Linked DNA regions of Homo sapiens: region 2 is linked to region 1. Evidence: promoter capture Hi-C in 16 types of primary human blood cells and fetal thymus (Javierre and others, 2016). All regions are on one chromosome and are shown on one strand. Each heading gives the region's core, a stretch centred on a gene start or on the middle of the fragment in contact. The rest is flanking DNA. Distances are from core to core; before and after follow the strand shown. Region 1 holds the start of IGSF21 (immunoglobin superfamily member 21). Region 2 has its middle 130 kb from the start of LINC01654.

Region 1 (5,077 bases), core at 1,502-4,001:
TCTGGCCGTGCCCCTCCCCGAGCAGTGACCGCCAGTACGTTCGTGAAGGCCGGCGCGGGTTGCTCCTCTCTGCGCCCTCGGAGGCAGGTGGCCCTGCAAAGCCGCTGCCAGGTGCACCTCTCTCGGCCACCTCCAGGAAGGGCGCCCTCCTCCGGCACAGCCCGCCTCTTGCGTCTCTCACGGACTCTTCTCGCACCCCGCCCCCCATTCTGGGCACAGACTTGGAAGGAGGAAGGAGGGACCCCACCCTCGTGTGCTCTCCTCTGCGGAGAAGAGAGGGCTCCCGGCTGCCTCGGATCTCCCTCTGCGCCCCAGACGCGGAAAGTTTCCCATTCGCGATCCGCGTCTGCGCTCTTCCTTCATCCTGAGCAGCGGAGCTCCGAGGCCGCGCTGGCTGCACCGGCCCAGATGCGCTCACCCTCAGGCACGCCAACCCCCGCCTCCCGCAGCCCGCAGAGGCGGGCAAAGGGATTTGAGGCGTCAGGATGCCGGGTCAGCTCTCTGCAGCCGGGCAGCCAGAAGAACCCTGCTCCCGGGTTCCAGGGAGAGCTCGCAGGGTGGGGTCCTGACGGAGCCAGGGTTTCCCAACAAGCCCTTCTCATCAGTCCTCTCCTTCACCCTGCCGCGTCTCTCTGTTCTGCGCATTCCCAGGGAAAGGGGTGCTTACCTTAGGTCCCCAGCCTCCAACCCCCGCCCCCTGCAATGTCCAGGTGAGGGCTCCAGTGCCTTTCAACAAACCCCAGTGCCCTCTCGGCGGCGCTGGAACGAGGACCTCCCCCATGTAACCTTTCCCTCTAGAGCCCTCCTCCCAAAGTTGAGGGGGGACATTTTGATCCACTTAGGAAAGTCTCTTGTTCCAAGGGTAGGGGAACAAAGTACAGGGTTTGCATTCCTTCTGGGTTACACCAACCCCTCCCCCCTCGCTGTCAGGACCACCTTCCGGGCTCAAATTCTGCAGCTTCTCCCATCAGCAGACCCAGCACTCCCCAAGGACTTCGGGGTAGAAGGAGTTGGGGTTATTTTTAAGGGGGCACCCCTTCCTGGCAGGCACTCTCAGAGCCTAGGTAGGCACCTCCTGCTGGGACAAGGCTATGGCATAGGACAGAGGTGATGCCCACCTCTATCATCCAGTGGGGCTCGGGGTCGAGACCTTATTGATCATAAAGACGACTTTTTGGCACCTCGCGTCCCGCTCCCCTCCGAGGCGGAGCCAGGCTCTGACTCCAGCCAGGCTGAGGTTGGCACCAGGCTCCGAGGAGGATCCCGGACGCGGAGCCTGTAGTCTCGGTGCCTGCGGCTCTTCGCTGGTCCCGCCTCCCTCCCTCCTGGCTTTTAGCCTCACGTTGGCTCTCTGCTCACTGCGCGAAAGGGTTCAGCTCCATTTAAGACCCACTACGCGGCGGCACTGGGTGGGAGGCCGGCCGCGGACCCTGGGGCTGCGGAGCCACCTCTCACTGGCTCCGGAGAACCCGCTCGGCTTCAACCTCCTTCTAGCTGTCTTAGCCTAACCCGGGAGCAAGTCCACACGGCGGGACACACACACACACACACACACACACACACTGAGCTGCTCACAACTCCCCAGCCCCGGAAGCGTCCATACCTCCCTGCACACGATAACCACACGCTCCATGGCACGCATACACACACTCCCAGCCCCATGAAGCCCACGACTCCCAGGCACCTGCACCCCCACCCATCCCACATAAGCAGACTCTTGTCCAGTGTCACAGTCCCATCTCCTGTGCACACAGAAATAGTAATCCGCTGTCGTACACCCCTAGAGACCTGCACACTCGGGACACACGTGAAACGCCAAACCTCACATACCCACCCCCTAACACCTCACACCCACAGTGACACAAGCTCACACACTTCACACCCTCACAGGGAAGGTGGCACATGTTCACACCCTCCCCCCAACATTCGCTCACACTCTCACACACACACCTTCTCCATGTAACTGACACAGACACTCTAACACCCATCCAGACCCTCGCTCACTCACACGCAGACCCCACACCATCACACACACACGCACACACACACTTGCATCTCTAAATACACTCCCGCACCTTCTGCCCACACAGCTCCTTCCCGGACACCCTCACCCAGACACACAACAAAGACACACAATTTACACACACACACACACCCTGGCACAAATCCATGAGCGCTCTCCAAGAGGCGTCCTCCCTCCCTCATCGAGCCAACCAGCTCCACAGACCCCGGGCAGGACCGGTGCTCGTAGCCCGAGCCTCTCGGAGCGACCCCGGCCAGCGCCCTCCCCCGGCACCCCGTCCCCGCGCACGTTCACCGCTCGGCTCCCGCCAGGCGCCCGCGCACTCACCGCGCGCCAGGTCCAGGATCGCGGCGAGCAGCAGGCAGACGCAGCGGCGGAGGCTCGGGGCGGTTCGCATGGTGCCCGGGAGCTGGCGGCGGTGGCGGGGCGGCGGGGGTGGAGGCGGTGGCGGCGGGTCCCCTCGCCATGGGCTCAGACGCGCTCCTGCCTCCGGCCACTGGCCGAGGCGGTGGCGGGCAGCGCGGAGAGCCGCGGGGGCGCCCCCATGCCGCCGCGGCCAGGCAGCCCGGGCGCCCGGCTCGACTCGGCTCCGGCTCTGCGAGGCGCAGCGACCCTCGCGCTCTGGGCGTCCTCGGGGCTCGCCGCGGTTCTCGGCTCCCTAGCTGCGCGCGGTGCCCACCGCGGCCCAGAGTCCGATCGGCTGCAGCGCCGGAGTTTGGAGCCGAATCGCGCTCTCTGCCTCGCGCTCGCCTCTCCCGGCGGCGCGAGCACCCCCCTCCTCTCGCCCTCCCTCCGTCCCTCCCCCTCTCCCCGCCCCCCCGCCCTCCTTGCCCTCCCCTCGCCGCGCTCTCCGCGTATTATACAGACTTTTCTTTAATCCTTTCTGGGCTGTTCGGCTCTCGTCCGCTAAGCCGATTTATTGCAGGGAGAAGGAGAGCTCACCCCCTCCTAACCTCCCCTCTCCCCTCACTCAGGTCCCCCCTCACTCAAAACTGGCTTGCTGCCTCCAGCTTCTTAACCCTTACCCAGGTGACCCAACACCCCGCCCTGGAAGCTATGCTCCATCGGATCCGCCTTTACCTAGCCCCTCCTATCCCCGGGATTACCATCGCCCTCCCCGCTACTCAGCCTGATGAAAGGAGGCAGCCTCCCTCCCGAGAGGGAAAGATGCCATCCTGGGAGCAGGGCAGGCAGGGTGTGGCTCTGGAGTTCTGACCTTGCCAACGATGAATGCCCTCATTGGGCAAGATTAAGGGGTTTCCATGTTCTGAAACTTCCCCAATTACGGCTGCTCCTTCCCCCAGGGACCCACGGAAATGGGGTGTGTTCTGTCTTTTTCCCATGTGCTAGGATCCAGCCAGGAAGGGTGAGGAACTGATTGTTTCCTCCTGGCAGAGACCAAGTTTCCACCTTTTTGCCAGACCTGACAGCTTTTCTTCCCAGGTCCGAGAAGAACAGGTTTGGGACTTGTATGTTACCATTACTCTCCCACCAACACACACGCGAGCACACACACACACACACACACACACACACACACACCATTGAGCCTCAGCCCTGGCGGTGGACTTTGAGGCCTCCTGCGAGGATGAAGGGGAGGGGTACTCTAGCCCTTGGAGTGGACTGGGGATGTGGTTAGATGAGGAAGTTCAGGAGATAGAATTTCACCATTGGTAGGGACCCAGAAGATTGGCAAAGCCCAGAAAAACCAGCACGACCAGGGGCAAAACCTGCTCAGAACTCAGGTGGGTCCCTTTACCCAGGCCTTCTATGGAGAATCTCCAGCTTCCCTAGCTCTGGCAGGTTGCTGAGTCAGGCTGTTGCATCGTTTACCTACATGGGCAATGGGTCTATAGCCAGTTCCATCTCCAGCAGCCCTCTGAGAGGAGTGTAGGGAGTGGGGTGGGCAATGGGTGGTTGCTGGGCTGCCTCTGGGTGAGCTTTGTGCAGAGATGTCCATGAAAGTGAACTGCTCCCTCCTCCTGCCCTCTGGAACCTCACCCCATCGCCTCCCAAGGCAGCTCTGCGGCTCAGCTTGCTCACCCACCCCAGAAGGAGCGATTTGCATTTATGAAGATCTGAAAGCATACGTTCACCTGACAGGCTTTAGAATGATCCTCTCAGTAAAATAATAATAATGATCATAATAAACCCTTATAAATAGGTGTTTGATTACAGTTTGTCCCTAAGTGGGATTTTTTTTTTTTTTTTTTTTTTTTTTTTTTGTGAATCAGACTAATTGGTTCCAGGTTGATTGGACTGCATATGGCTTGAACACTTGATGAACACTGGAGTCTTAGGTCCTTTCTTCTCCCTTTGGCTGCTGTTCTTTGCTCCCTCTCACTCGCATCCACCCAGGTCTCCCCTTCTCCAGGCTGCTGAGGGTCAGCTTGAGGTCACCTCTCCCCCTCACCTTCTTCTCAGGCTGCAGGGCACAGTCCCTTACTGCCTCCTCCCTGGCCCTCCCTCCCCACTCTGACCCAAGAAAAAGTCAACAAACCCAAAAGTCCATCCCAGGTTCTAAATCCTCTGTGGAAGGGGCTCCCTGGCTGGGGAACAGCATCAGGTTCATGCGGTTCCTTGTGCTGGTCTGAGTTGTGCAGGGAAATGCCAAGCATCGCTGTGTGGGCATTCCTACTCTCTGGCCCCAGCTGCAAATCGGCGTGCAGCTAGGCAGGTGGACAGCATCAGTTCCTCAGGTGAACCCTGAATTGGTGGGGCTTCCTGGCTGCGCTCCCTGCAGCCCAGCCCTTGGAGATGAGGGCCAGGGAGCAGGTGGGATTCCAGGGCCCCTTAGTGATGTTTCTTCCCAGCCATGGTTCACACCAGCTAGAAAAGAGAGCCAGCAGAAGGAGCTAGAGAATGGCATCTGAGGATATGCTAGTGAGGAGGAAAGCAGGCCTAACAGCCAAGGGAGGGTTGCTTCCTAGGACCAAGGATTGGGGCTGGTGTGTTGGAGATCTCCTTCAGCCCCAAGACTTCTGAATCACCTCAATTCTCTTTAACATCACCCTGTATTATAATTATTATTATGCCTAGCCAGTGCCTGACACA
Region 2 (5,165 bases), core at 50-2,549, 180 kb after region 1:
CGTTCCCAGTGTAGGGAGCTGGTCTGACCTCGTATATTGCCCTCCTTGGGGAAGAAATGACGCGGCCAGAATGACATTAAATTCCGGCTCCTTTAATTCACTGAAAACTCGCCATGACAAGCTTCACCACGTTCTCCAATGGATCCATATTTTTCGAACCCCAAAGTGATTTCTAAACAAGAAAAAACTTTTACCAGGGAAGTCGCAAACCTCTGGGCTCTCATCCCCTGCTTCAGAGACATCATCCATCTTCCTAGAAGTGACACTCGTTGCTTCTACGCAACTTGGTTAAAAGCAGAGTCAATAGTCGCAAGCTATGAATCTTTTCTGCTCCTCTAGAGAAGGAAAAAATCATTGCATGTTAGTGTTTGGGGGTCTCAGGCCCATAATGCAGTTTCTGAGGTCTCATAAAAGGGGCCCAGCCCTTCAATGCTCCCAGCTGAGGCCTCTCAGAGTGGAGTTTGGGAGTGGGTGGATGGGTGGGAAAGAAGCTGAAGAGTGGGAGGTGGGGGACACAGGGAAGCCAGGCCGACACCATCGTGGGAGGCCACAGCACCAGGCTGGGTGTCATGAGGCCACTGGCCCTTTGTGACCTTAGGCCTGTCTGAGCCTCCTCTGAGTCTCAGGTTTTCCCCTTTGAAAAACGGCAGTAACGTGTGATTGGTCCTGTCCGGCACAGCTCACAGGGCTGTTGAAAGGATCATGAGAGATGGAGTTATGGAAATAGCTGAAAGACCTTAACATCCCATTCACATACAGGGGATGGTAATGGTGATAACGGTGATGCTGGTGGCCTGGCACTCTGATCACTTAACAAGAGCCTGGAAGTGTTGTTTGTATCCATGTGCTGTGTGACCCCAGACAACTTGCCAAACCTCTCTGGGTTTTGATGTTCTCTCCTGTCAAATAGGGATAGTGAAGGACACAGTGAGATAAGAGGTGTGGAAGGACTCTAAACACTGTTTGACAGGATTCTGCTCTTGTCGATAATCATTTGACGAGAAGAGCTCTTTTGACAATTACAGAAGGAGAGCCACACCCAGGACAGTAAACCTCCTAGGTCAGCAGAAATTGGCAAATTCAAATCTTCCCAATATTCATCTTCATAACAACAACAACAACAACAAAAGCCTTGACTTCTAAAGAGAGCAAGTTGAAGTATTTACTGTTATTTTTGCACCTACTAAATGCCCAGCCAAAGAGACAAAGAAGAACCAACAGGCGTAAACTGTTTATGTGCCAAGCACAGTACCAAATGCTTTCTGATACAGTTTGGTTGTGTCCCTGCCCAAATCTCATCTTGAACTGTAGCTCCCATAATCCCCATGTGTCGTGGGAGGGACCTGGTGGGAGGTAATTGAATCGTGGGGGCGGGTTTTCCTTGTGCTGTTCTCATGATAGTGAATAAGTCTCTGAGATCTGACGGTTTTATTAAGGGCAGTTCCCCTGCACAAGCTCTCTTGCCTGCTGCCATGTGAGATGTGCCTTTGCTCCTCCTTCACCTTCCGCCATGATTGTGAGGCCTCCCCAGCCATGTGGAACTGTGAGTCCATTAAATCTCTTTTTCTTTATAAGTTATCCAGTCTCAGGTATGTCCTTATAGCAGCGTGAGAATGGACTAATAAACTTTCCATGCCTTACCTCTTTTAATCATCACAGAAAAATAATGGATTCAATATTATTTTTACTATTATCCCATTCTATAGAAATAACTTGATGTTTAGTAGAATACTGTCACTTGCCCAAAGTCACGCAGCTAAGAATTGTCCACACCTGTTTTTGAAACCCCTCTAACATACTCAAAGGTGAGGTTTTCAACCACCATGGGACACTGTCTCCAGACTTAACCCTCACACCAATCCTTTGGGATTGGAATTGCTACTATTCATTATCTAGATGAGAAAACCGAGGCTCAGAGTGATGAAGGGGCTCGGCCAAGGTCACATGTGGGTAAATGGTGGGTTGAAACCAGGTCTGTTTTTGGGAATTCACCTTTGGGTACCAAGACTCCACATAGAATGGCAGGCACAGGATTCACCAATGCTATGAGGTGCATGCAGGGAGGAGAGGGCAGAGTCTACCACTCAGAGTGCTGGAGGGAAGGCAGAGGCAGAGGGAAGCCACTGGCTCTCCTCTGTCACCCTGGGCAGGCTGGGTGGCAGGGAGAGGAATTACAGCCATGGAGGCGGATCTGGTCAAGCACTTCAGCCCCAGCTGAAAGTCAGACCAGGAGCAATGAGAATAGATCAGCCTTGCCACTTTACAGCAAGGAAGAGCCTCCCAGAGTCAGGAGACTGAAAGCCACAGAGTGTGGCCATCCCATGCCCCAGGAAGGACTTGCAAGGCCATCCTGCCTGCATGCAGCCATCCATTCCTTCAACAAGTATTTATGAAGCACCTGCTCTGTGCCAGGCACTATACCAGGTGCTGGGTAGGCAGCATGAGCAAGTCTGAGTCTGTGCCCGCAGGAAGCTTGGAGTCTGGTGTTTGGAGAGAGAGCACACCAGATACATCAACTTTGCAGTAAGGCAGACGGTGATACATGGAGGAGGCAGTGGGTCAGGACTGAGGAGCTTATGTGTTAGCTGTCTGTTTCCTCTTGCTACTAGAATGTGAACTTCACGAGGGCCAGGACCTCCCAGGTCTTGCTGGCTTCTCTATCTGCAGGGCCGGGTGGGTCATAGAGCATAGAGAAGCCTCTCCACTGGCAGCCATGTGGTTGTTGTCACCTTCCTGCTCTTCCTGGAGTCCTGGGCTGGGATCTGCCAGATCCCCTGGGCCTGGAATGAGGCCTCCCAGCCAGTCCCCGAGACAGGGAACAGAAATAGTAACAGCTCTCATTTAATAAGCACTTGCGTTGTGTCTGAATCTTGTTCTAAGTGCCTTAAATGCATCTCTCTCATGGAAGGCACCATCTTTATTATCTCCATTTTACAGTGGAGGAAACTGAGGCTCAGGGAGGCAAAATCACTTGCCTGAGAGCCCACCCACATAGCCACCACTCCCCACTGGCAAGCTTGGCCCAGCCTGCTGTCCAGATGCAGAAATGAAGGCAAGAATCAGAGCTGGAGCAGGAAGCAGCGGCCAGGAGAGGCCAGAAAGAGGGGACTTTTCTGAGCAACACATCCCAGGGGTGACCGGGAAGTGGAGAATCCTCCCCATCACCCAGGAACAAACCAACACACTAGGGGCTGGGCCAGGAGACAGGGAGGAAGGAAGGGCCATTCATCCCAATGGGGAGCAAGGAGAGAAAACCATTTCACCATGGGCTGTTCTACTCACCAGCCTTGTTCAGACCAAAAGGATGCTTTCCCCAAATTGGGGTGGATTTTGAACTAGGTTTAAAGGCAGCTCATCCCAACTGCTGAATGGGCAGCTCAGTCATGTTCACTGATCGTTAGCTCAGTGATAATTAGTAACTGGGGAAGGGGGCTAAGACTAAGAACAATTCTGTCCTTTCTGAGTGTGTCCAGACCCCATCTCTAGCAAATCCAAAATTTCTTAAAATTATGTTTTAAATGAAAATCCATCTCCAAGGAGTACATGTGAAGCAGAGAGATGGATCTTGGCACCAATGGCCTCGTGCTCACCTACTGCCATCCACACCACCCCTCCAGGGTGTCATGATGGGGGCTCAGCGCTGCCAGGGCTCCGGACATGGCCGGATCTGCTTTGGGAATTGCCTTCTGAGTCATTGCTGAGTCCCACAAGGAAGTCCATCTAATTATGTGCTAGTCTGACCTTATATTTGTCAACCCGGCTTCTAGTTCATAATATCCATCATTGGGATGACGGGATCAGGAGAAAACAGTATCCTTTTGCAGCAGGAAAGAGTCAGGTTAGACCCCAAAGTGCACTTCCCAGTCAAAATGGCTGGGCCAGCGCCAGCCCCTGAGTGAGACTGTGCCATCCATTTCTCAGAAGCTCCTTTCTTGTTCTTCAGCTCCTCTGGGGATTGGAACTGTATCTCACCACTCGGCTGTAGATTTATTAGTCCCCAGGAAGGATTCATCATATCCCAGAGCCTGAAGCCACTGTTTTGGTTTAATGTATGTTGGGTTTGCACCTCTGCTCTTGAGAGCAGGCAGTTCGAGGTTTGTCTTCTGCCTCCAGTCCCAGAGGCTGGCATGATGCCCACATACAGCAGGTGCTCAACAAGTGCTCTGGTTTGCTGGAGATTTTCAGGATAGTAGAGGCCTGTTAGTCCATTGAGGGTGGCAGCGATGGAGGGAAGAGCCACACAACAGGACTTTTGCACCTTTATCCCTCTTCATCCTCCCGGCAGCCCTGCGTGGTAGGCATAAGCAGCTCTGTTTCACAAAAGACGAAACTGGGGCACCAAAGAACTCACCTGAACCTTTACAATCTTAGATCTCACAACAGTGGTCCAAGACGGGGGACTCTCCTTTCTGGAATCACTTGTGAGGGAAACTCCAGATTCAACCTCTAAGAACAGGCTCCATTGCTTGGCTTCAGTCCTGTCTGGTGGCAGGGGCTGGACCAGATGAAAAATAAGAATACAAATAGCTGACATTTCTCAAGCAGAGATCATGTGCTGAGCACTGTTCTGAACATTCTGACACTAACGCTTTTGACCCCTCAAGGACGGCAGGCATCACCTCCATTCTACAGTCAAGGAAAGAGAAGCGTGGAGTTAAAGGCTTGAGTTCATACGGCAAGTGAACAGTGGAGCAGGGGAGGGTTGGAGCGCAGCAGTCTTAGGCGAGAACACATGCTCCTTTCTGCCTGCCCTCCAGCTCTCTGGAAAACGTGCTTTACGTGAAGGCCCAGAGAAGCCAAGCAGGCAATCTGATGTCACACAGCAAGGCTGTGGTCCTCCTGGTTTAGAGCATAGGTCTCTGGCTTTACTTGCTGTGGGAGCAAGAGGAAAACAGGTTGGATGTGTCCATGCCAGGCACTGTGCTTGGCACTTTCTTTACACATCGCATTTGATCCTGACAACAGTCCTATAAGGTAGACATGCACCTGTGGTCCCAGCTATTTGGGAAACTGAGGTGGGAGGATTCCTTGAGCCTGGGAGGTTGAGGCTGCAGTGAGCCAAGACTGCACCACTGCACTCCAGTCTGGCCCACAGAGCAAGACCCCATCTCAAAAAAAAAAAAAAAAAAAAGGAAAGAAAGGAGCTTCTGTGAATGGGATGGCAC

What was found. The method cuts DNA at HindIII sites, captures the fragments that hold promoters and counts their contacts. A CHiCAGO score of 5 or more calls a contact.
Region 2: a fragment that was not itself captured here is called in contact with the fragment with the promoter of IGSF21 in region 1 in 1 of 17 cell types (naive CD4 T cells); the score reaches 5.3 in naive CD4 T cells.

Annotation. Positions count from the first base shown.
Region 1 is chr1:18,105,472-18,110,548 of GRCh38, reverse strand. IGSF21 (immunoglobin superfamily member 21) reads right to left here and starts at 2,751. Exons shown (of 10, transcript NM_032880.5): 1 at 2,351-2,751. The coding sequence starts at 2,420. The HindIII fragment of the contact is 15,130 bases long and covers 1-5,077 here.
Region 2 is chr1:17,928,418-17,933,582 of GRCh38, reverse strand. No RefSeq gene overlaps it. Among named protein-coding and RNA genes, the nearest start is that of LINC01654, 130 kb to the left of the region's middle. The HindIII fragment of the contact is 2,351 bases long and covers 124-2,474 here.